Regions from separate parts of the Homo sapiens genome. Here regions 1, 2, 3 and 4 are each linked to region 5. Evidence: promoter capture Hi-C in 16 types of primary human blood cells and fetal thymus (Javierre and others, 2016). All regions are on one chromosome and are shown on one strand. Each heading gives the region's core, a stretch centred on a gene start or on the middle of the fragment in contact. The rest is flanking DNA. Distances are from core to core; before and after follow the strand shown.

What was found. Contacts are between HindIII fragments. The CHiCAGO score rates a contact against its expected background, and 5 or more counts as called.
Region 1: a contact is called between a fragment that was not itself captured here and the fragment with the promoter of DNAJC10 in region 5, in 3 of 17 cell types (M2 macrophages, M0 macrophages and endothelial precursors). The highest score is 6.4, in M2 macrophages.
Region 2: a contact is called between a fragment that was not itself captured here and the fragment with the promoter of DNAJC10 in region 5, in 1 of 17 cell types (M1 macrophages). The highest score is 6.5, in M1 macrophages.
Region 3: a fragment that was not itself captured here is called in contact with the fragment with the promoter of DNAJC10 in region 5 in 1 of 17 cell types (endothelial precursors); the score reaches 5.0 in endothelial precursors.
Region 4: a fragment that was not itself captured here is called in contact with the fragment with the promoter of DNAJC10 in region 5 in 1 of 17 cell types (monocytes); the score reaches 9.0 in monocytes.

What each region holds. Positions count from the first base shown.
Region 1 is chr2:182,178,960-182,181,659 of GRCh38, reverse strand. All of the region lies in intron 13 of PDE1A (phosphodiesterase 1A), which reads left to right. Among named protein-coding and RNA genes, the nearest start is that of PPP1R1C, 190 kb to the right of the region's middle. The HindIII fragment of the contact is 2,372 bases long and covers 199-2,570 here.
Region 2 is chr2:181,913,412-181,916,111 of GRCh38, reverse strand. ITPRID2 (ITPR interacting domain containing 2) reads right to left here. Exons shown (of 18, transcript NM_001130445.3): 10 at 2,179-2,267; 11 at 1-896. Among named protein-coding and RNA genes, the nearest start is that of ITPRID2, 23 kb to the right of the region's middle. The HindIII fragment of the contact is 4,193 bases long and covers 1-2,700 here.
Region 3 is chr2:182,161,394-182,164,093 of GRCh38, reverse strand. The region is part of intron 13 of PDE1A (phosphodiesterase 1A); the gene reads left to right. Among named protein-coding and RNA genes, the nearest start is that of PPP1R1C, 180 kb to the right of the region's middle. The HindIII fragment of the contact is 753 bases long and covers 941-1,693 here.
Region 4 is chr2:181,932,447-181,935,146 of GRCh38, reverse strand. No RefSeq gene overlaps it. Among named protein-coding and RNA genes, the nearest start is that of ITPRID2, 42 kb to the right of the region's middle. RefSeq lists a silencer at 2,579-2,700. The HindIII fragment of the contact is 8,454 bases long and covers 1-2,700 here.
Region 5 is chr2:182,714,867-182,717,566 of GRCh38, reverse strand. DNAJC10 (DnaJ heat shock protein family (Hsp40) member C10) reads right to left here and starts at 1,310. Exons shown (of 24, transcript NM_018981.4): 1 at 1,084-1,310; 2 at 495-551. It also overlaps a transcript of PDE1A not described here. RefSeq lists a silencer at 918-1,077 and enhancers at 639-1,243, 1,588-1,657, 1,678-1,827. The HindIII fragment of the contact is 1,821 bases long and covers 757-2,577 here.

The DNA.
Region 1 (2,700 bases), core at 135-2,634, 540 kb after region 5:
CAGCGGATTTAATCTTTCCTGTCTGCTGGCTCTGAAGAGAGCAGCTGACCCTAACAAGGGGGACTCTCCCAGCAGAGTGCACCAGTTCTGCTAAGGGACAGACTGCCTCCTCAAGCAGGTTCCTGACTTTGCGCCTCTTGACTGGGAGAGACCTCCCAACAGGGATCAATAGACACCTCATACAGGAGAGCTGAAGCTTCCAGAGGAAGGAGCAGACAGCAATCTTTGATGTTCTGCAAACTCCATTGGTGAAACCTAGGTGACAGGGTCTGGAGTGGACCCCCATCAAACTGCAGCAGACCTGCAGAAGATGGGTCTAACTGTTAGAAGAAAAAGTAACAAACAGAAAGCAACAACAACAAAAGCATCAACAAAAAAGACCTCCTACAAAACCTCATCCAAAGGTCATCAGCTTCAAAGATCAAAGGTAGATAAATCCATGAAGATGAGGAAGAAACAGTGCAAAAACGCTGAAAATTCCAAAAGCCAGAATGCCTCTTCTCCTCCAAATGATTGTAACACTTCTCCAGCAAGGACACAGGACTGGACAGAGAATGAGATAGATTAATTGACAGAAGTAGGCTTCAGAAGGTGGGTAATAACAAACTCTGCTGAGCTAAAGGAGCATGTTCTAACCCAATGCAAAGAAGCTAAGAACATTGATAAAAGGTTACAGGAGCTGCTAACTAGAATAACCAGTTTAGAGAGGAACATAAATGACCTGATGGAGATGAAAAACACAGCACAAGAACTTCATGAAGCATACACAAGTATCAATAGCTGAATAAATCAAGCAGAAGAAAGGATATCAGAATTTGAAGACCATCTTGCTGAAATAAGGCATGCAGACAAGATTAGAGAAAAAATAATGAAAAGGAATGAACAAAACCTCCGAGAAATGTGGGACTATGTGAAGATACTGAAGCTACGATTGATTGGAGTACCTGAAAGAGACTGGGAGAATGGAATCAAGTTGGAAAACACACTTCAGGATATTATCCAGGAGAACTTCCCCAACCTAGCAAGACAGGCCAACATTCAAATTCAGGAAATACATAGAACACCACTAAGATACTCCATGAGAAGATCAACGCCAGGACACGTAATTTTCAGATTCTCCAAGGTTGAAACAAAGGAAAAAATGTTTAAGGGCAGCCAGAGAAAAAGGTCAGGTCACCTACAAAGGGAAGCTCATCAGACTAACAGCAGATCTCTCAGCAGAAACCCTACAAGCTAGAAGAGAGTGAGGGCAATATACAATATTCAATATTCAACATTCTTAAAGATAAGAATTTTTCAACCTAAAATTTCATATTATTAGAAATAAGTAGAATTTTACTTCCTAGATTGGGCACTAGACACACAAAAGTTCATTTTATCATTATGATTATGATTATGTCTAACATGTGCTTTATATATGTATCTATAATTCATTTATATACATGAAATATTGCATAAAAATGAAACAATGATAAGCTATTAAAATGCATCTACTAACATAGTGATCAATTTTAAAGTCACTGAGTATCAGATATTGCCATTTTAATTTTCCAGTACCTACCACTTCTAGTCTTATACGCTGAAGATGAAAGTTTCTTTATTACAATTGCATTGAGATTAAAATAAGCAGGTCATATGATGTTTAGAGCTTTGGAATATTAATTAAGCATCAGGGCTTTGAAGAGAATTCCAGATGTTTGCTCATCATCATATTAACCCTTAAGCTCTATTTCACAGATATCGCAAAAACATCTCCCTAGTCCTAGAGCAGGGAGAGACTGTTGACCTATTATGCTTCATTTTTATTATCTACTTCACCCTCTTAAAAATAAGGTTCATTAAAATAAAGATGTTTGTTTCCATTGCTGATGTATCCCAAGCTCTTTGAACAGAGACTGGCACAAAGTAGAAATTCAAATGATTATCTGCAGTAGGCAGGGAAGAAAGAGAGAGACAGAGCGCAAGAGGGAGGACGAGAGAGGAGGGGGTAGAGAAAGGAGGAGAAGGGAAGAAGGAAGGAGAGAGGTAGAAAACCTACCATCTAGGCCCCAAAATATGAAATATATGATCTTGCCATGCCCTTGGAATTCTCTCTATGCCTTCTCTAATCATTTATTTCCTTCTCTCCCACCCATGAGCTAATTATTGTTTTGAATTTTGTGATAATCATTCTTTTTTTAAGCTGTTATCCCTCTTTGTATAATTTTAAACAATGTATAATTTAGTTTTGTCTGTTTTAAAACAATATAAATGGAACTGTGCCATATACATTCCTTTGTGAATTGCTTTCCACTCAACAAGATGCTTTTTAAAATTTATCCATGACAACACAAATGTTGTTCTGTTTCAGCAGGAGTTTTCTGGATCTTGCAGAAAACATGAGACAGAAAAAAAAATCCAAATACTGTGCAGATACTTTTTAAATATTAGTGTTTTGTTTAAGTCTGTACATATCATATCCTTAGGCCACAAATCAGGTGCATAAATAATATACCCTTCATTATTTCTCTGTGACCAAACATAGTTTCTAGCTATGTCCTCATGCTACCTGTTTGAAGAAAATATAAGCTTATCATTTAAGTGTTTTGACTGAATCAGAGTAAGCCTGGTCAATCCAGGGTTTCTGACCTCTCTTTCCTCCTTCTTTAGATGGCATTGCAGTCCCTGGGGACTAATGTTGTGGTATTAATGGATTTCAGA
Region 2 (2,700 bases), core at 59-2,558, 800 kb after region 5:
TGGCATTCCTCCACCCGCGGCGCCTCACTCTGGGGGGCTTCTTCTTTCTTCACAGATGATGGAGAGATGAAAATGGTCGATTTAACTAAAGACTGACCATCATGTTCCATCACCCGCTTTTCCAATTCCTGCTCCTCTTCAGGTGTGTACTTATAGGTGAAGGAAGGTGGGCTGCATCTGGTCTCTTTTCCTGGAGATAATCGAACATTGACAGAGGACACAACCCTTACTGGGCTCAATAAGGTGGTTGGTAAAGACTGAGACCTTCTTAGAGGATAGCCAGCTTTTGCAAATAAGTACCTTTGTTTTAACAAATCTTTTGATTTTAGCAGGCTACGCCCCATCCTTTGATTAGACAGACTGCAAACCTTCATTTGAGCTCTTTGCAAAGCTGTATTAACTCTGTCCATGGAAGAGGGAGGCCCAGTTGTATTTTCAGAGCTCATATCACTGCATTTAGCTTCAATAGAAGCCAATGATTTCAGAATATGGTGTGTGGTATACTGAGTAAATTCACTTTCACTGCTTTTACCCACATCACTTTCAGCACTTGCTTCCCTCAGTAGCTCTACTGTCTCTGCTGGAAACAAATCCTCTTCCACTTCAGTAATTTCAATGATATGATCCCCTGGACTACAGGTGGACTGTTTAGTTCCTGTATTCTCAATGGTGTTGCACTGAGGGAAATCCTGGCTACCTGATTTTCTTTTGTCTGCAACTGCTGCTGCCTTCTCTAGTCCCTTCTGAAGAGGGACAAGAGACTCCTCCTCTGATTCATTAAAATAAGGCTGGTCTTGTGCTGTTGGTGTGGCAAGGTCTTCACCAAGTGACGTAACTGTTGTCTCACTGTCACAACTATCAGCACTACTCCCCATAGCCTGCAAGGACTCCTGAACCTGTGAAAAGAAAATAGGTGGAAAGATGAAGAATATATGTAAGAAGAGTCACTAACAAAATACCAAACCAACATGGTGCTTCTATAATTTCACTGTCTCCACTGCAGTTGTGGCCCTGCTGTTGCTCAAAATTGTTTTATTGCTCCTGAGCAGCAACCACATCCCTCCTTCCTCTCACTTTCTCACAAAGATTATTTCAGAACTTCACTGTTTTCCTAAAATTCCCTTTCCAACAACCTCCCCCTTTCCTTTCAATACAACACACTGACTCATAGAGAAAATGGACAAACACTTCCTAACATTCTTCCCCAACATCTAAAAACTTCCTTGTATCTCTCCCCATCATTCCCTCCTTCTCTCCATTCTGAAAGGAAACTCAAAGCGAATCCCTCCAACCTGGGTTCCTGATCATATCCTCTCCAAGACCAGGGTATCTCTCCAGTTTCAGCCCGGATTTTTCTGAATCAGTTCTTCTCTTACGGTTATTTCCCTTAGCTGAACACTTTCCCCAAGTCATTTCATGTTATTATAAAAGGACAAAAAGACCCCTCACTCTTAAGCTATCATTCATATTTGAAAACCAGTCAACATTCCTATCTTTTCTTCCATACCTTCTGAAAGTTTCTCCTCCATCTCCCAGTGTTTCTGTTCACTTAATTACTCTTTCTCAGTGAACTTACATATGCCTCTTGTCTGTTTACCCCTTAAATGCTATGTTCCTAAAGGCTCTTTGGGAGTTTTCTCATCCCAATTTTCTTTAGAATTTGCTTAAAAAATGTTTCAAATGCTTTTTCTGTGCATTCTGTGTACTCTACATATAGACTATATGCTTCTTGGGGATAAAGATGTGCCTGTTCTCTGGGTTATCTCACACAACCTAGTGTAAAAATCAGTATAACACTCAGCAAGCTATAGGTCCACAATTAATGTCAGTTATTAAATAGGCAAAACAATTACTGTAAAATAATGAAATATAATGATGGTTAAAAAAATAAGAAAAACAACAGACAAAACAGGTTAATGATCACAATAATCTCTGTTTACTGGTGGTCCAAAAATTAAGGGGAAGATAGATATTTTTAAAAACATATTCAGAGAGAAGAATTAATGAAATCTAAAATTTATAGTCAAATGCTTAGATAACATCTACATGCCAGGAGTTTTGTTCTGTCACTTGAAAAATAAAGATTATACAGACTCAATATTAAAATATATAGTAATACAAAAACCACCTTAAAATGAGGAAGTTAATCATAGTGCCTATTAGAACAGAAAATTTTACCTGAAGATGATTAAGGGATAGGCAGTCTGTAGAATCTTCAGCAAAACCACTGCTATCGGAATGCTGACTTGCAGTACGTAACAGATGATCTATGAATAAAAAAATGTGGCTATAAGAAACAGATGATCTATAAATAAAAAAAGTGGCTATAAGAAATTACTGAGAGCAATATTACTACAGAGATATGATTCCCAGCAGATATAAGATACACAATATTTGACTGCTTCTTAGAAAAATATGCATTACTTATGCAAAATTATGTCTTCAAAGTACAGGAGGTAACTCAAATTCAAACAAAAACTGTATCAGATCTTCTATTAGAATCTCTCGGTATTCGCTCATTAATTAAGCTCTAATTATAATCTATTTTGGTAAATCCAATCAATGTTTTATCCTTGGAGGAAAACTGAAGTAAAAGATGGCTCTAATAAAAACAGAAGTCCCAAAGTAAACCATTTCCATTATGTAAATATGTAAAGATATTTAGGAGGTAAATTTAGAAGTTCATATAGAGAGCATAGT
Region 3 (2,700 bases), core at 68-2,567, 550 kb after region 5:
ATGGTAGGTAGTTCAGGTCACATGGTAATTTGCTGGCCCAAGGCCAAGCATTCAGCTTTTACTAAGGCCTAGTAGCAGGTCAAGAGCTACCTCGCAAAAGGAGAGTAGTTATCTGCAGATGATGCCAGGCCTCATTCCAGAATCCTAAAGACCTCTATTGTGATTCACCTGTAGGGCCCTGCCAAAGACTCCAAACAGCATACCTATCTGCCACTGATACAGCAAGGACCATTGGAGCTCTTGGGTCACATGGCCCAAGTGGCAGAGCAGCTTGCATAGCAGCCTGGACTTGTTGCAGTCTTTTCCTGTTCTGTGCCCCACTCATAACTAGCAGTTTTTTGTGTCACCCAGTAAATGGGCTAGGGTAACACACCCAAATATGTCGCCTTTATAATCCAAATAGGTCCACTAGGAATTGTGCTTCTTTCTCAGTTATAGGAGGGGCCAGATGCAACAACTCTTTACTTTAGAAGGGTTATCTCCACAGGCCCTGCACCACTGGACCCTTAGAAATTTCACTGAAATGGAAGGCCCCTGAAGTTTAGTTGGATTTATTTCCTGCCCCCTGACAATGCACATGTCTTGCCAATAAATCCACAGTGGTTGTTACTTCTTGCTCACTAGGTCCAATTAACATAATATCATCAATGAAGTGAACAGGGTGATAGCTTGTGGAAGGGAAAAGCAATCAGGATCCCTGCAAAATAGATTATGACATAGGGCTGAAGGGTTGGTATACCCCTGAGGTAGGAGGGCAAAGGTATATTGCTGGCCTTGCCAGTGAATCAAATTGCTTCTGGTGGGCCTTATGGACAGGTATGGAGAAAAAGCATTTACCAGAACAATAGCTGCATAACAGGCACCAGATGTGTTAATGTGTTCAAGAATGAAACTACATTGGGTGTAGCAGTTGCAATTAGAGTCACGACTTGGGTAAGCTTACAATAAGCCATTGCCATTCTCCAGGATCCATCTGTCTTCTGTACAAGCCAAATAGGAGAGTTGAATGGGGACATGGTGAAAATCACCACCTCTGCATCTGTCAAGTCCTTGATGGTTGCACTAGTCTCTGCAAACCCTTCAAGAATGCTACCTTGTTTTCTATTTACTATTGTCTTAGGTACAGGCAGTTCTAATAGCTTCCATTTGGCCTTTCCTATCATAATAATCTTCACCCACTAGTTAGGGAACCAATGTGGGGATTCTGTCTGCTGCTAAGTCTGTCTATTTCAATAATGCATTTTGAACTGGGGAAATAACTACCTTATGGGTTCGGGGACCACTGGACCTGAGCTAAAGCTCCATGAATCACCTGACTCCCCTAACCTCTACTATAACTGGAGGGCCACAGTGATGTTTTCAGTCTCTTGGGATCAATGTCAGTTCAGAGCCAGTGGCCAGTCATCCCTGAAAAGCCTGATTATTTTCCTTTCCCTGATACAAGGCCAGAGGTCCCTTTGGGGAAGTATAAGAGAAAGATTAACAGTATAAATTTTATGTAGTGCACCAGAGTCTTTCCTCAACAGGACCTGGTCTCCCCTTCACTTAAAGGGCTCTGGGTCTGTAAACTGGCTCAAGTCTAGAAATTGATTGAGGGGCAGTGATTCCCTGTTGTCAAGATTTGAGTTAGACTTTTCTTCACTTGACCCAGAAATTTTGTGCTTCTACAGTTCAAGTAAGAGCATAGTAAGCTTCCCATCTATTTTACTTCTAGGAACATCATGATTAATTAGCCAGTGCTGGAGGTCTACACAAGTCAGATTATTCTGATTGTTGCTTTGCCTCTGCTGTTAATTCCAGTAACTACGCCCACCTTGCCTTTGACATTTGAGTGCCATCGCTTGGCTCCTGCCACCCAGGGATCCAATTATTCCCATTGCATTTGTTTTCTAATTGAGTGATTGTAGTTCCCACTATAAGTTCTGGAATGCAGAGAAGAGCAATCACAGAGATCTTTAAGGATGCTGGTGCTCCCCTCACAAATTTATTTCTTAAAATATTAGTGAAAGGTGTATCTTCTGGACCCTCCCAGTGTGGGGGAGTAGGTTTTATGTGACAAGTCCACTGTATCATTCCAATTTCCTTAAGCCTTTTAATTCCCTCCTCTAAATGAAACCAAGGTAGATCAGGCATCCCCAGCTCACTCCTGGGGTGGTCTATTTTTTGATCCATGTTTCAGCCAGTCAGCCAAATAAACTTATAGTGCCTGTTTTCACTCCTTGAGCTTCAATATTAAATGCAGAATATATGCTTAGTGGGCTCATATCAATAAATTTGACCTTATTCTTTGTTTCTTCCACCATAATCCCACATCCTTAATATCCATTCCCACGCATGTTTCTTGGATTTCTGCTGGTATCAGTTAGAACACTCAAGTAGTTCTTTTGGAGTATAGCGCACCTCCTTGTGGGTCACACTCTGAACCTCCCCTCTGGGATTTCAGTCTAGTTACAGGTTTAGAAGCAAAGAGGGGTGGTAGGGGTGGGTCTCAAGGAGAATCAGCATTGTCTTGCCCGGCAACTGCTGCAGGGGAGACCATTACTCTTTTTTCTGACAATGCAGTTAATCCCAGAGAGGGGTGGAAAAGAGATACCATTGTGGGTGGGGGTGCCACTGCCTCTGGAGGTGGAGAGGACAGTCACCTTGGCAAAAAATACTCTTCAGAATTTACGAGCTCAATGCCCCCCATCAGGATCATCC
Region 4 (2,700 bases), core at 169-2,668, 780 kb after region 5:
GGGCATTTTAGCAGAGAGCGAGAGAGCTTGCCAGCATTAGAGGAGAAGAGAGGATAGGAAGGACAGCGAAATGTCTGCCTCAAGCGCTTTCACCCATGGCCAAGCCCCATGAAGATGTGTCTGAAAGCAGAAATGACCTAAGATTCTTTCACAAGGGATTCATATGAGAAAGCTGGGTTATAAGCAATGCTGCTATGCTGCTAAGGTAGTAAGGGGTAATTCAGCAAGAGAAGCACTCCCTCCACTTCCATACAGTGTGTTATCATCATAACCTTGGCCGATTGAGGACCCCAGCAGAAGGGCAGGGGAGCACTGGGTCCCTCAACAGAGAGAGCAAGAGAAGAGCAAAGCACTTAGAATTGACGTATTAGGACTGTCATGAAGATGTATGAATAACTCTCGGGGAGCCCCAATATTAATGCATGAGATTTAGGAGAGGAACATATCTTTCAACACATGATGGAAAAAGAAAAATATATCTGTCATCATTAATGCATTCCCATTTGTCATCACAGACTAAAGAAGATTGGGTAAACACATCATCTTATTGAAATGTCTATATTTTACAGATATCAATAGGTTAATAACAATGCAAGTCCTTTTTGACTAAACATAAATCAAGACATTCACAACTGAGATTTAACTGATGACCCTGCTGATTCTATCAAGAGCAGTCTCTGCCCAGGCACAGAGTTCTAACAGATATTTGTGAATCTACTCCTCAGATGTCTGCTTTATACTTCAGGGGCCTTTTTCTTTTTTATCTTGGACTGCTGAAATAATAAAATTATTTGAGATGTACCGAAGCAAAACCATGAATCATCAGTACATGGATTTACTAAACAATTAACTCAGGAACACGAATAAGAAATTAGTGTGCTCTGCAGAGGTGAAATATCATGAATCTCTCTGAAAGGAATGATAAACTCCTTCAAACTCCAACGGCTATAAATAAATTCCATATCCCAGATCCGATCTCTTTCTGCAGCATCTCTAGACTAATTCTTTTTTGGGTCTCATTCTGGTTCTTGACTGGTTGATTCTAGAAGCACTCAGATGGTCTTTGCATTTTCTCAACATCCAATCTACACAATATAAGGACTTACTATTCATTGCCATCAACAGCAATCAGCAATTTTTTTTCTTTTACTGTGATCATTCGTTGGCCATTGCACAATTCCACAATGCCTTGGGTGGGCCCTCCTGAGGTCTCCTTTCTATGTGCTTTGCTTACATTTGTTCTTCATTTTGAACTTTGGCTATAATGAAAAGTTTCTTGAAGGGGCCTGTAAGATGACGTACCCTTGGAGATTAAAATCCTTTTCCTACTTAACAATTTCCTTCCTTTGAAGCATCTAGCAGACAGGTAGTGAAGACCTACTATCCTAAGTCCTTGCTACTAAAGTGCAGTCCATGGCAGCACCATCAACCTCACCTGGGAGCTTCTTGAAATGCAGAAATTCAATCCTAGAAGGTAGGACCCAGACCTCAATCAGAATTTTCCTTTTTACAGATTCTCAGGTAATTTGATTTGTATGATTAAAGTTTGAGAAGCACTGTTCTAAATGGTATTCCATGACCAGTTTTTTGGTTTCAAATAACAAAATTTCTTGAAAATGTTAAAACCAGTAATTAATGTTCACCTGCTATATCAGAATCGGCAGTCTGGTACCAGTTCCTAGTTCAACTGCTTGAAAGAACACATTAAAGTTGAAAAGGTCAGTCCTGGATCTATAAGTCCATATTCTGTCCTTCCCATTTAATGCTTTGACTTGCCAAAACTCATCTACCTGTCACCTATCTTTACCCATCTTTGCTATCACCATAACAGCTAACTTACTGAGCTGTGCCAAGCGCTGTGCAAAGTTCCTTTACATTCTTCTCTATCAACTGAGAAACAGGTACTAATACTACCATGATAGAGTGAGCAAATAAGCTCATTGTTCACAAAAATTTAAGTCTTTCTCCTTTGGGTGTGCAGAAAGACCCTTGTGAGGAAAATGGACTCTGATATTTGTCTGATATGCATTATCTTTTAATATATTTGTAACTCCCTGCTGAGCACTGACATTCTGTATGCAAGTTATTACTTATGATTTGTGACAGTATTATTTATTACACTGACACTGTATATAAACTGTTATTTACTCAATATGACTAATGGAACATCAGTTGTGGAAATGAGAACAAAAAGGAAAAGGCCTCATTCAATAGCAATACATAGAAGAAACTGTATAGGAGAGGAACTATTAGTTATGACATTTTAACTTTATACATTTAGAATGCAATTAGAATAAGTGCTAATTAAATGTTTCCAATATTCATAAGTAACTCTAAGTGATGCTTAAAAGTGTAGACCCTCAGCTTCAATTAAAAGGTGATAGGATGTTTCCTCTTCCCACTTCCTAGGAGTGCTATAATTTCCTTCTTTCCAGGAGAGGAAAAATTCTAGAAGAACATACACTTCAGTTTTGCTTAATTCCTTCCCTAAGACCACACTCCCATTTGTACAGGTGAAGAACATGGGCAATGCAGCAATTCTCCAGAAACTGCCCAAACTTACGTTCTCTTTACATTCTTTTATATACACTTTACTGCATTCTTATGTTCCTCTGAAAAGGTTGAAGATGGCCAGCTGAGCAAATATTCGGTACTTTTAAATGTATGAAATTCAACTGAATATATTTAGAGGAAAGAAAT
Region 5 (2,700 bases), core at 61-2,560:
AAGCTGTCTAATTTTCATTTTCAGCAGAATTCACTTGTAGGAAATGTCCTTGGGAGGGACTAGAAGGAAACATAGGGTTTTTTACTTCTCATATAACCCTACCAGAAATGACAGTGAAATATATTGTTATAATAGACAATCTACACAGCAGTCGATCTTCTTCCCGGAGTTTCCTCAGAAGGTGCTTATACTGAATTTAAGTAGAGGCCATTTTTTAAAAATAGTAGAAAAACAATTGTAAGTTACCAGTGTAATTTTATTGCAAAGTTCATGTTTGGTGTAAGTAGAAACAAAACACAAAAAGAGAAGGGAATCGGTTATTTAGACATACTCTCTGCAGGGCAAAAACAATCATTACTTCATCATATCACATTTCAACCACTATATTTTAGTTCCAAAGAGATCGTAATGCTTTGAAAAATCTAACGCTCCTCGCACCTCATTTCTGTTTTTCATTTAATCCTAAATGTATATTTAAAAATTTTTCTCTTTACCTGTGAATGGTCTTCAGCTCATTTCTAATACTTCCTTTTCATTCCACAAAAATATACCTTTGAAAAATATAATGATGTAGAGATTAACAAGTATCCAAACAAGAAAACAACCATCAGAAAAAGAGAGGGCATAGTCTCAATCAACACTTTGGGATAAGATGTTTCTCGCCCAGGGGTTGTTCTCAGCGTGGGTGTGGCCGAACTGCCCGTGGCCCGAGCTACCGGGCAGGTGGAAGCGCCAGGTAAATGCAAGGCGCAAGCTTTCGCATTGCCATCACTGCAGAGTGGGAGAGGGGAGAGGGGTAAAGATGAAGACACGGGGGAACAGGGCTGTTAAGTGTTGCTGGTGTCTGAAGTCTCAGGTCGGACTTAGGGAGAAAGTGTAAGTAACTGAGAGGGAATCGCTGGGCAGAGGAAGGGTGGTGTGAATAACAGGGAGGAGGAAGGTGGGGAGCGAGAACACAATATCCAGGTCTTAAGAGCGCACAGGAAGGGAGGTTCAGGCGCTCAGCCATTCCGCCCCTCCCTGACCGGAGGGCCCAGGCCACCACCGGCTCCAGCAAAGCCCTAGCCCCGGGCCCATGCCCACCTTGCCATCGCGGGGTCGCTTCCTGTAGCTACTCCCCCATCCTCAAACCCTGGCGGCGGACCCCGCCTGGCCGAGCCCAAGCACCGCGTGCAGGAGAGAAGCACACGCACTCTCCGACGGCCCAGCCGCGGCGCACGGGATTGGTGAGGTGCAGCCACACCGGCGACTACCAGCGCGCGGCCGGTACCGGTAGGTTCCTCACGCGCCGGTCTCCACGGCGAGCCGGGGCGGGGCCTGGCGCGGAGCATTGTGGGAAAGGCGTGGAGGACGCTGCCTGGGGAGACCCGCTGCGGGCCCAGCGGGCGCTGCGGCGGTGGGGTGGAGAGGGCGGTGTAGGTTTAGGTTGACGTGGCGGTGTGCGCGGGATCCGGCTCCGGCTCCGGCTCCAACCCGGAGCTGAGGGAACTGCCCTGGCCAAGCAGCCCGCGCCCCCTCACCAATGCGGCCGGCGCCTGCCGCGGGCGGGGAGGGTGGATGGCGAAGCCCGCCTCTTCCTGCTTCCGTTGCCAGGGTGACGGGGAAACCCAGAGGGTGGGTTTTGGGGTTGAGTTCCCTGAGAGTCTTTTAAAGGGAAGACGGAGCTTTGGAGGATTTGTCTGGGTGATGGGTGGGTGAGACCGAAAGGCGAAATTTGGCGGAGAAAGGAGAAGTTGCCTGAAGCGACACTGATTGCAGTATCAGGCTAGCGGACTGAAGAGGCAGTAGGAAACTTGAAGGAAATTAAAACATTTACAATTTTGTGTAAGCGTGTGTATCAACAAGCATTTGAGACTTCTACAATATTTTCTGGATTCTGAGTCATACAAGCTAGAAACTGGGGAGTTATCGTTGTTCTCTCTTACCTTGATCTCCTACTGCTATGGTACAGGAACTGCATTTTGTCCCACAGCAATATAACAATTGAAGTGGTTATATTTACTACATTTTCTATATTTAAAAGAGAAAACCGAGCCTAGAGGATACCTGCTTATAACATCAACCCTAACATGAAATAAGTTGTGATTGGTAACAGTTTCGGGGAGTAAATCAAGTGTCAGCTTCTAAAAACTTGGAAAACTACACAGGATCTATGGCTAAGCTAATACTTGGTAGGAAAGAAGAGGAAGTAGAATGAACAAAGGCAAACATTAGAAGCAGCCTGATGTAATAGTAGTTAATATGTCTCAGGAACTGGTCTAAGCACACATGTAGTAACTCATTTAGTCCTCCAAATAATCTTACAAGATAGTGGCTCCTATATCTATTTCCCATTTGAGGAAACTGAGGCAAATATTTGAGAGCTAGGATTCACATCTAAGCAACCTGGCTTCAGAGACTATGATGTTAAGCATTATGACACAGTGTGTAACCATTTTGTTACACACTGTAACAAAATCTTAAAGTAAATTGAAAAACAAACAGAAAACTGGAAGATGAAGCAGGGACCAGATCACAGACAGGTTTTTATACCAAGATGAAGACATAGATTTCTATCTCTTAGGTGATGAGGAAGCTTTTAAAAAAGAGACTGAGATTGTATTTTAGATCATCCTGGCAGCTATTGGAGAGAGGATGCAAAGCATACAAAACTGGAGAAAGAACAGGAGAATGTTAGACAAATAGGGTAAATGCTTTAAG